Regions from separate parts of the Homo sapiens genome. Here all the other regions are linked to region 3. The links are contacts of gene promoters, found by promoter capture Hi-C in blood cells and fetal thymus (Javierre and others, 2016). All regions are on one chromosome and are shown on one strand. The core of a region is centred on a gene start or on the middle of the fragment in contact, and the rest is flanking DNA. Distances in the headings are between cores, read along the strand shown. Region 1 overlaps SUSD1 (sushi domain containing 1). Region 2 overlaps SUSD1 (sushi domain containing 1). Region 3 holds the start of PTGR1 (prostaglandin reductase 1).

Evidence for each region. The method cuts DNA at HindIII sites, captures the fragments that hold promoters and counts their contacts. A CHiCAGO score of 5 or more calls a contact.
Region 1: a fragment that was not itself captured here is called in contact with the fragment with the promoter of PTGR1 in region 3 in 13 of 17 cell types (naive CD4 T cells, total CD8 T cells, naive CD8 T cells and 10 more); the score reaches 19.4 in naive CD4 T cells.
Region 2: a contact is called between a fragment that was not itself captured here and the fragment with the promoter of PTGR1 in region 3, in 3 of 17 cell types (activated CD4 T cells, total CD8 T cells and total CD4 T cells). The highest score is 5.8, in activated CD4 T cells.

The regions. Positions count from the first base shown.
Region 1 is chr9:112,071,609-112,075,464 of GRCh38, reverse strand. All of the region lies in intron 12 of SUSD1 (sushi domain containing 1), which reads left to right. Among named protein-coding and RNA genes, the nearest start is that of LINC02977, 33 kb to the right of the region's middle. RefSeq lists an enhancer at 1,580-1,749. The HindIII fragment of the contact is 1,180 bases long and covers 712-1,891 here.
Region 2 is chr9:112,095,164-112,098,835 of GRCh38, reverse strand. It overlaps SUSD1 (sushi domain containing 1), which reads left to right. Exons shown (of 17, transcript NM_022486.5): 10 at 174-366. Among named protein-coding and RNA genes, the nearest start is that of LINC02977, 57 kb to the right of the region's middle. RefSeq lists enhancers at 1-183, 184-1,103, 3,153-3,322 and a silencer at 825-944. The HindIII fragment of the contact is 2,979 bases long and covers 1-2,946 here.
Region 3 is chr9:111,597,509-111,601,359 of GRCh38, reverse strand. It overlaps PTGR1 (prostaglandin reductase 1), which reads left to right and starts at 1,713. Exons shown (of 10, transcript NM_001146108.2): 1 at 1,713-1,757. RefSeq lists an enhancer at 1,290-1,862. The HindIII fragment of the contact is 792 bases long and covers 1,208-1,999 here.

The DNA.
Region 1 (3,856 bases), core at 52-2,551, 470 kb before region 3:
ATGAGTCTCTGTGCCCAGCCTAGAGCTTGTTTTCTAAAAACTTATTTTTTTTTTATTTTCTTTCTCTCCCACTAAAATAGGAGCTTCCTGAAGACAGTGATTTTTGTCTGTATGTTTTACATTCAACCCTCAGTGGGTAAGAATGGTACTGATAGATAGCATAACAGCCCAAAATTTTAAAATAACAGCCAGTGGGTGGTATTGGTGTTGAGGAGATGTCTGGTTAGGCAATGAATTCTGGCTACCAGAAAGAATTCCCCACATTTTGGGCTGGAGAGACAAGTGGTGTTCAGTCTGGGCATTTCTTTCTGTGGTGACTTATTAAAATGAATAGCGACTCCATCTCCATTTCCTACTCTGTGGTCTTTCTCATATTTGGATGCTGTGCTTTTCTGGTTTGAAGGACCGTTGCATATTTTTTTGAGTAAAGGGGAGGGGGTTTCATCTTGATGAGACACTTACTCCTTGTTTGGTAGGCTGAATAGAGCTTTAGTGGCTCAAGTTCCCTCTCTCTGTGCTCATGGCCACCAGGGGACATTGTTGAGCTGTTTAATGTTCATTGAGATGCCTATTTTCCAACTCTACCCACTTTAAAGGACTCGTAATTTTAAAGAAGCATAAAAAAATCAAGTTGCTTTGATCTTATGAAAGAGTTAAAAAAAAAAAAAAACCAACCCCTTTCTTTTATAAAAGGAGGAAAAAAGAGAAGCTTATGTGTTGATGTGCAGAGATACTCGTGGTTTCCTAAGAAGTGTGTGGCCTTATTTCGGTAAAATCATGAACTTTTGAATTTTGGCAGATGTGTTAGGCTAAGGATTTGGGTCTGGACAATGTAGCTGCTCATTTCCCAGAAGGAAAGAGAGTGGAATTTCCCTTCTGAGTGTCTTACGTTAAATCTTACTGATGGGAACAGGATGAAAACAAGTGCTTTAAATACATCGCTGACCTCAGAGGACAGTGAAGGTTCTAGGAATGTTGAGGGACAGAGGCAAGTGTTTCGGTGAATGCAGGAAAGCAGGGGCTGGCGAGGGGGTGGGTGAGATGGAGCTGTGGCCTCACGGTGTTTCTGACTCTTGGCTGATAGGCTGCAGACGGCACATTGAACTGAATTCTTCAGGATAGCCCCACGGCACGCATCCCCTTTAGGACAGGGTGAGGAACAAACTTTCATCCTTGATGCAGGCCCCAAAGAGTCAGAAGAGCATCCACATGTTGAGTGTGCTATTTTCTTTTTCTTTTTTTTTGTTTTGAGACAGAATTTCGCTCTGTCACCCAGGCTGGAGTGCAGTGGCGTGATCTGAGCTCACTGCAACCTCCACCTCCTGAGTTCAAGTGATTCTTATGTCTCAGCCTCCCAAGTAGCTGGGATTACAGGTGTGTGCCACCACGCTTGGCTAATTTTATATGTTTAGTAGAGATGGGGTTTCACCATGTTGGCCAGGCTGATCTTGAACTCCTGGCCTTAAGTGATCCGCCCACTTCGGCCTCCCAAAGTGCTGGGATCACAGGTGTGAGCCACTGCACTGGCCTCCTTCCCTTCCTTTCCCTTTCCCTTTCTTTTTTTGAGACAGTCTTGCTCTGTTGCCCAGGCTTGCTCTGTTGCTTACGCAGTGGTGTGATCTCGACTCACTGCAACCTCTGCCTCCCAGGTTCAAGCGATTCTCATGCCCCGACCTCCCAAGTAGCGGGAATTACAGGCACACATCACCAGCCCCGTCTAATTTTAAAAATATATTTTTAGTAGAGATGAGGTTTTGCCATGTTGTCCAGGCTGGTCTCAAACTCCTGACCTCAAGTGATCTGCCTGCCCTTAGCCTCTCAAAGTGCTGGGATTACAGGCATGAGCCACTGTCCAGCTGAGTATGCTATTTTCTTGCTAAGTCTAAAAGCTTTGTAGGCAACATTTTCTTATATAGAGAGAGAAAGAGGAAACCAGAGAGAGGAGGATGGGGGTGGGTGGGGGCGGGGTGGGGAAGAGAGAGAAAGAGAGAGAGAGAGAGTGAGCGTGAGAAAGCCAATACATACGTAAATGTGGAGATAAACCAGACCACTTGTCTTACACAACATGGTGATCATTTGAGATGGAATGTTTATTATGGAACCAAGCATGCTGGAGGAGCAAAGGGAAGAAAAGATGAAAAGGAAATTATTTATTCCCATGTCTTCAGTACCAAGGCTGGCAACTTCTTCAAGAAATTTCCCATCTCTCATTGTATTCATAACAAGAAAAAGGAAAGTACTTTTTCAGACGGTTAGGAAAACAACAGAAAACACAGGAGTGTCCCAGGCATTTATCAGATTGTCACTTTATCAGAGAGGTCCAGCCAGGACTGCCCTGATCCTCCCTGCCCCTGCCTCTGACACCGCCCTCCACAATGGGATGTCCTCAGGGAAGACTGTGCAGGACTAGGTCTCTTGGTTTCTTTTACCGAGGCTTCTCTTTCATGGTTGGTTACCCACAAACCATCCAAGGATGCTGTACCCCTGTGTCCTCAGTGAGAAACCCATCTCCCCTGGCTGGTTCCAAGGTACCACACTTATCCCTGGGGGCCCCCCTGGCTCCAAGGGGGCTGAAGCTGTACCACAGGTCAGCAGAGGGACTGGCCTTCATGCCAGCTGTTTTCCTTTCCAAGTCTTCCGTGGACACAGGCTCTTTTGATATCTGGAGCCCTAACATTAGGTCACGCTAGGAGAGGCATGTTTGCCCTTCCATGCTTCCACAGTCCACGTATTTCTCTCATTCCCAGAAATCTCCCAACTGCTTTCTAGCTTCAAAACAAACCCCAAGCCCCCAAGTAAATGGCTGTGTGGGGATGGGTGTCTCCCAGACCCTCTTGCTACCAGCATCTGAATCTCAGCCAAAGTTAGCTTTTATAAAACGTGCATGAGAAGGTATTCTTAGATCAGAAGCCTGGAAACTAGGGTTTCTGTGTGTGTTGGGAGAGGGGGAGGGGCTTGCTGAGCTGTAACAATTTAATTTAGCAAATATTTATTTATTTACTTGTATTTGTTAAAAATGAGATGGGTTGGCCAGGCACGGTGGCTCATGCCTGTAATCCCATCCCAGCACTTTTGGAAGCTGAGGTGGGTGAGTTCGAGACCAGCCTGGCCAACATGGTGAAACCCAGTCTCTACTAAAAATACAAAAATTAGCTGGGTGTGGTGTGGGTGCTTGTAATCCCACCTACCTGGGAGGCTGAGGCAGGAGAATCTCCTGAACCCGGGAGGCAGAGTTGCAGTGAGCTGAGATTGTGCCACTGCAGTCCAGCCTAGACAACAGAGTGAGACTCCGTCTCAAAAAAAAAAACAAAAAAAAAAAAAAAAGAGAAAGAAAGAAATAAAAAAGAATAAAAATAAATAAATAATAAAAGGAGATGTCTTGAGAAGTCACTAGCAAATATTTTTCGATTGGTTATGTACAAAGACCTGTGCTGCCTACTGAGGATGTACATGTGAAAAGAAATTGGTTTCTTCTCCTTGGGAGGTGAAGTCTCATAACTTTATTGATGGAGAAGATATATCTAGCTGATGACTTGTAGTGGAAGACACTATTTTTTCTGTTGCCTTCAATTTTAATTTACCATGCCTTGGATGGGATGATATATCTGGAGAGGTGCCTGAGGATTAGAAAAGAACCATCATGCTGTGTTTATTTTTCTACCTACTTTTTATTATAGAAAATCCAGAAAAGTAGCATTGTACTGGGTTTTTGGGCGGTGGAGTTGTGTTTTAATTCAATTGTTTGTGTTTACTTGAAGTTTGCAGTACAAAGTTGGAGACGTTGCTTAGTTTTGATGCAGATAAAATTTTCTTCCATTTTTGGTTCTTTTTGTTCATTTTGATGGGTTTTACATAG
Region 2 (3,672 bases), core at 208-2,707, 500 kb before region 3:
TAGCTTTGTCAAGTCCTTCCTCAGGTTAGCTTGCTATTGTCTTAAAAGTAATTCTAAGTGGGCAAGGATAAATAAAAGGAACTTTCTTGTTTTAACTCCATTTTGCTAATAGTCTAGGCACCTGTTAGTCAATGGAAAATCTAATGTAACACTTTCTTTTAATCTCATGACAGTTTACCGTTCTGGGTCAGAGGTGGTATCTGGCTAACTTTTCTCATGCAACATCGTTTAACTTCACAACGAGGGAACAAGTGCCTGTAGTGTGTTTGGATCTGTACCCTACGACTGATTATACGGTGAATGTGACCCTGCTGAGATCTCCTAAGCGGCACTCAGTGCAAATAACAATAGCAACTCCCCCAGCAGGTGGGTGTAGACGTCTTTCTTTTTTGTGCCTCAGGACAAATTACCTATGTGAATTGAGCAGTGTGGGCGGGCATAAGAGTGCTAGTTTGGGAGTCAAGAGACAGGGGTTCCAGTTCTAACAAACTTTGTTAGCTGCGTCTGGGGTTCAGGATGCCTGAATCTTACCACTTATCCCCTTCCCTGAAGGGTACTGGCTCATAGAGGGCACAGACCAAGGATAGACTGATTTATTCAGAGCTCCCTGGGAGTCCTAAGTTGAGAATTCCATAAAGCATTTTATCTCTCACCCCAAATTTAAGACAACTGAACCCTAAGGGTATTCATTATCGGCAAGTAGAACGAACTTCCAGGAGACCAGAAACGTGGGTCCCACAGTGTCAGGCACTGGCAGGCAATACAGCCTCAGGACTAGGCCACGCATAAGCAAATTAACTTGACATAGAGAACAGAGGCCTGATTAAGGTCAGGCTCCTTAGAAATTCTTCCCTTGCAGTCTTTTGAGGAAGCCACATAGGTGCCAGCTGTATTAACTCCACAGCTCCCCCTAGTGGGATGGCTGTGGTGCAGCCATCACTACTATTTCTTTTGTTCTTTAATCCTGTGGGTTTATCAGACAAATTTACGGGCAACCAGAAGAGGCTACCCCTTTGAAGGAAAGCAGCAGAAGAGGGTAGGTCCTGCTGCTACCTCCCTGAAGCCGCTCTGTGATATTCACCTCTGCTCTTTGTGGGTCAGGGTGGGCAGTTTGGCCTTTGCATTTAGAAGACTCTGGGCCGGGTGCGGTGGCTCACGACTGTAATCCCAGCACTTTGGGAGGCCGAGGCTGGCAGATCACCTGAGGTCAGGAGTTCGAGACTAGCCTGGCTAACATGATGAAACCCTGATTCTACCAAAAATACAAAAAATTAGCTGGGCATGGTGGTGTGTGCCTGTAATCCCAGCTACTCGGGAGGCTGAGGCAAGAGAATCACTGAACCCGGGAGGCAGAGGTTGCAGTGAGCCGAGATTGCGCCATTGCACTCTAGCTTGGGCAACAAGAGCCAAACTCCATCTCAAAAAAAAAAAAAAAAAAAAGACTCTGAAATGTGTTAGACACTCATGAGAGCCACGTAGCACCTGAGGCTGAAAATTAATTTTTTTTTTTTGAGATGGAGTCTCGCTCTGTCACCCAGGCTGGAGGGCCAGGTGCCATCTTGGCTCACTGTAACCTCCACCTCCTGGGCTCAAGTGATCCTCCTGCCTCAGCCTCTTGAGTAGCTGGGACTACAGGCGCATACCACCATGCCCAGCTAATTTTTGTATTTTTAGTAGATACAGGGTTTCACCATGTTGGCCAGGCTGTTCTCGAACTCCTGACCTCAAGTGAGGTCTTCCAATTCAGCCTCCCAAAGTGCTGGGATTACAAGTGTGAGCCACCGTGTCTGGCTTCAGTTTTTATCCTATTTTTTTTATCAGATTGAGCCTGGCACCTTGTCCTGTCTGTATCAGCAGAGTTTGCACAAGGAGCACCTCATGACATCATAAACCTACCCCCCAACACATTTTCAGCTGCATAGTAATGCTCGCAAATTGAATATGAATTCCCTCCAATTATTAAATTCTTAGAGAAATAAAAATCTATAAATAAAATCTAGCTGGGTGCAGTAGCTCACGTCTAATTCCAGCACTATGGGAGGCCAAGGCGGGTGGATTGCTTGAGCTCAGGAGTTTGAGACCAGCCTGGGCAACATAGTGAAACTCTGTCTCTATAAACAATACAAAAATTAGCTGGGTGTGGTGGCATAAGCCTGTGGTCCCAGCTACTTGGGAGGCTGAGGTGGGAGAATCTCTTGAGTCTAGGAGGTTGAGGCTGCAGGGAGCCGAGATTGCGCCACTGCACTTCAGCCTGGGCAATAGAGCAAGATCTCCTCAGATAAAGAAATAAGAATAAATAAATCCACCTCTCCTTGTAAAATAAACTAAAATGTAAAGGCATGAAGTCCCCAGTTTTTTCTATCCTACATCTTTTCTGCTGAGTCTTGGCCAGAGTGTCCTGCTGAGTGGAGAGTGTGTTCTAGCTGTTGAAACCTAGGAATCTTGTTTTGTAATAGATGCTACTCCTTTGGTGTATAGGAGACTGGCAAATGCTGAGGTTTTGAGGCAGGCACATACTTGGCATATTCTAGGAATGTCATGGAAACCAGTATGGCTGGAGCAGAGAGCTGGGGACAGTGGTGAGAGATGAGGTCTAAACTCTAGCATGAGTATAATAAATGAGAGGCCCATGGTGTCAGGTTCAGAAAGAAGCCTGTTGTTACCTTCTCCTTTGCCTCCCTAAATTACTAGTAGTAAGTATAATGTAGCATGCCATAGTTCAGCCTCTGTAGGTTACCAAGCAGTCTGGAGTCTACCACGTGTCAATTTAAACTTAAATTGGGAAATGTCTTCTCGTCAGGGTAGTTGGATTCATTTTGACACTGTACTCTCCTTGAAAATTTTAGACATTTGCAGTGGTGGCTCTAGGTCTTTCTTGATGCCCGTTCCAAAGATTAAAACCTTTCCATTTTCGTTGCTCCCTTGAGCCCTATTTCTACCCAAGCTTCACCATTGCTGAAGATCTTTATCTGTTTAGTGAAAGAGTCTCCCTTCTTTCTGGGCAGGACACCCCACATTTATCTTAGGAAACTCTTCAAGTGAAATGCATCATCTTGCATGCTTCCTTCCCTGTCTCCATTTCTGACTCTTTTCTCTGAATTTCTCTAAACCCAGAAAGATCCCCCAAATTGTTTTAGTTCTGGACTCCACAGGCTCCTATTATTGAATGTCTGCCTGTGAGTCCTACTTCCTGGTTAGGAGATTTTCCCTTTTGTCTCCCATGGGGAATTACCCTCAGCTGATCTGTGAGCTGCTGTTGGGTTTCCAGAACCTGAACTTTCACTGGTCTGATGAGGTCCAGGAAACCCCCTGGGCTAGTGGCATTTCGCCCAAGCCCTACCTTCTTGGAATTGAATTTCCAAGACTTAAATGGTCGGTGCTTCTTTGATGGAAACTGAAACACTTCTTGCTCCCGCTTCCTTTTCTGTATCAGAGAGATAAGCCTGCAATGTTCAAGGTCCCTCTGAGAACGTTCTTACTTAGCAGGTCCTGCTCAGCTCTAAGCCTTTACCCTTCCATTTAAGTTGTTTCTGTTCCGTCTTTATTGCCAGGTAGGACTCATACCTTTTGCTAGGTCTTAGTACTTTTCCTTCTCTATATTTGCTTTTTGTTTTCAGACTTAGATTTTTGTTCTCCTCACATATTACTTTGGAATCTGCCTCCGAGGTCTCT
Region 3 (3,851 bases), core at 464-2,963:
GCAGCCTCCACCTCCCAGGTTAAAGCTATGTTGCCCACGCAAGTCTTGAATGCTTGGCCTCAAGTGGTCCTTTTGTCTCAGACTCCAAAAGTGCTAGGATTACAGGCATGAGCCACAGCACCCAGCCTGGGAATGGAGTTTTGTTTTATATTAAGTTACATAAATTAATGAGAAGGGAGAGAGTGAGAAAGAAAGAATTTGGCAGACCAGTGGGGATAAAGTGCCACCAACTCTGATTAGTGTGAAGAATTCAACTCTCGGCATTGTGTTTTTAGGGTCCATCCAAGTTGCTTTATGTACATGGAACCCAGTGCTTCTGATGCTGTGTATATCCTGTGGCATGCGTCCACCACGCTTGGTCCACACACTCTGTTATGGGCTGAACTGTGTCTTCCCCAATTTCATGTGTTAAAATCCCCAAGTCCCAGTACTCAGAATGTAACTGTATTTGTAGATAGGGCCTTTAAAGAGGTAATTAAGGTTACATGAGGCCATATTAGTGAGCCCTAATCCATTTGACAGTATTTGAAGACAAGGCCTTCAAAGACGTGTTTAAGTTAAACGGAGGCTGACAAGTGGGGCTCTAATCCAATATGGCGGGTATCCTTACAAGGAGAGACATTGAGCCAGGTGTGGTGGTGGGCCTGTAATCCCAGCTTCTAGGGAGGCTGAAGGAGGATCACCTGAGTCCAGGAGTTCAAGGCTGCAATGAGCTATGATGCCCACCATTGCACTCCAGCCTGGGTGACAGAGCAAGACCTCAAAATAATTAAAATTAAATAAATAAATTAAAGACATTGAATCTTCACAATGACTGGAAGTTAGGCATTCTTCTTATCCCCATCTTGCAGATGGCTGAACTGAGTGAGGCAAGGAGAAGGTAAGTAAGTCTTTGAAAGCTACACCACTAGTAAGTGGCAGGTGCAGGCTTCGAACCTGCAGTCGTCTAATACCAACGACTTAGCTTCACGTTCAACCCCTGCCTGAGACCACCTCTCCTTGCAGAAGCCAGGTCAAGGCCTGATGTTTGCTAGGGTGTGATGGGTGGGGTGCCTCAGTGGCAAGAGTGCTCACTCCTGCCTGGGGGAGTCTGGCAAGGGTTCACAGAGGTGACCTTGAATTGGCTGGTGGAAGGCGAGTAGGTGTTCAGCAGGCGGACTGGGGACAGACAGGCAGGGTGTCTGCACCGCAGCCCTGGGCGAAAGCTTGCACTGCGGGCAAGCGGCAGGGCTGACGGGGAGCCCAGGGATCGGAGCCAGCACCGGGGGCTTATTAGGGCTGCGGCCGCCCCAGGCCCTGCCTTTGGACCCTTCCGGCCTGCTTGGCAGATGCCACGGTTGGTTCCCCCACGGGGCATATTTCCGCCGGGCTCCAACTTAGGACCCCAGGCGGAGGTCCAGTGTCAGCTGGACAAAGCTCTGTTAGGAATTTTCCTATCAGGAGTCCCTAACCCCCTACACGCACACACACGGGCGCGCGGGCGCGCACGCACACACACGCACACATGCACACATACGCGCGCGCACATGCACATAGGCACACAGAGATACGCGCACACACACACACAAACGCACTCAGATTTCCCGGACCCTGGTTTTCCTCCTGTGACCCTTTCGGGGCCGGGCTCTCACCCTAAAGAAGCAGCCCCGCCCTGGGGTGGCCCCACCCTCTCTTGGGACCTGTCATAAGTCGGACCCCGGGCGCCCGGCTGCGCAGTCCCAGCCGCCTTCCCCAGGCAGTGGAACCTTCGGGCTCCTGTAAGTAGACCTCCTGCTTTCTTTCCTTCCCTTTTCTCCCTCCTCTAACCCCCTTGCTTTCTTCCTGCCAAGTTTCTAGACGCCCCAGTGGAGGAGGTTTGCTCTTAGACCTCCTCCCCTTACGTCGAAATGACCGCTGGGTCTTGCACTCGGAGGATCTTGGGAGCCGACGTCCCGACGCCTCCCGCCCCCGCAGTTCCTTGGAGAGCTTGGAGCCGCGCGCCGGAGGGAATAGGAAAGCTTGGTTACAACCCGGGACACCCGGTAGCTTCCTGCACCCGGGAGGGGGCTGGCCAGGGAACTTGCTGGACTGCACAACTGGGGGAGGGTAGAAGAAGAAAGATCGGGGTGGGGATTCGGGAATGGGCAAGCGGGCGGCGGGCGGCGGGAGGCGAGGGTGGGAGCAAAGGGCGAGCGGGCAAAGGCCGGGCGCCGCGCCAGGCCCCCTCCTCGGGCGGGCGAGACTTTCCCGGGACCTGGCCCCTCTGCGGCCAGACCCTTTCCAGGAGGGCTTCTGGACTTGTAGCGAGTTTGGAAGCCCAGCGGTTGCTTTTTTGGGGAAAGGGACAAAGATGTGTGAACTCTAAAGAAGTTGAACTCATAGAAATAACGACTAGAATGATGGTTGCCAGAGGCTGGGAGCGGGTTCGGGGGGGAATGGGGGCTTGTTGGCCAAAGGGTACGAAGTTCAGAGACGAGAGGAGTAGGTTCTGAGATCTGTTGCACAGCAGAGTGACTAGAGCCAATAATGTGTATTTCGAAATAACAGAGTAAACTGCAAATGTCTCACCGTAAAAATGATACGTAGGGCCTGGCGCGGTGGCTCACGCCTGTAATCCCAGCACTATGGAAGGTCGAGGCGGGCGAATCATTTGAGCTCAGGAGTTCTAGACCAGTCTGGCCAACATGGGGAAACCCCGTCTCTACTAAAAGTACAAAAATTAGCTGGGCGTGGTGGCGGGCGCCTGTAATCCCAGCTACTCAGGAGGCTGAGACAGGAGAACCGCTTGAACCCGGGAGACGGAGGTTGCAGTGAGCTGAGATCGCGCCATTGCACTTCAGCCTGGGCGACAGAGCGAGACTCCGTCACAAAAAAAGTCTTAATTTTAAAAAAAGAAAAGAAGGAACAACCCCGGGCTGCAGATCAGACCGCCCCCCTGGCTCCCTCGCAATGCGGGAGTGCTCCCTCCAGGTCACCGTGTCCCCTCCCGCGGCACCGGTAGGGGAGCTGGGGAGATCACTGGCAGCTCCAAATGGTTTCGTAACTGGATTGTTTGTAGCGGATGCACCCGCGGGAAGGCGCAGGTCCCAAGTGATTCGGCAGAGTTCAGTCCAAGCAGAACATCCTGAACCCCCAGCTCGGGGCAGCCTTCATCATCTTCCCTTGCTTTGGTGCAGCGTTTCAGCTCAAAATCGGTTTGGTGTGGAGTTTAAACTCAAATCCCTACTGGGCCAAAGAAAATTCGCACCCGATGGCTGAGTGCAAGTGGTTCACACCTGTAATCCCAGCACTTTGGGAGACCGAGGCGGGCGGATCGCCTAGGCAACACAGTGAGGCTCCTCTCTACAAGAAAAGAGAGAAAAAAAAGTATTTAAAAAAAAAAAAAACGCACCTGAAAATGGGGCGGAGCAGCGGCGCCCTCCGGTGGTTTTCAGGAGTTCTGAGACTGCCTTGAAATGCGTGGCTGTTTCCATCTGAAAGAGGTGCATGGACTTCTATCTATTGGGTTCTTTGTGTTTGATGCTTTTTCTTAGAATTCACTCCATGTGAGATGAGAAACGGAATGGAATATTCGCACTTCCGGTAACTGTTCAGTGCCGTAGAGAAACTCTAGCCTAGCAGTGGCTGGGAAGAATTTCTTTGTTGTTTTATATTTTTTCCTTGTCTTGAAGATTTCTTTAAACCTCAGTTTCCTCATCCGTACACTGGCAATGATACTAATGTCTATCTTATAGGGAAGTTATAAGGATAAAATGAGGTAATCTATATGAAGTGCTTAGCACAGCACCAGAAACATAGTAAATGTTAAATGAATGTGGTTGGCATGATATGATAATGATGGGATTTGAGGATATTGTAATTGTGCTGTCTGG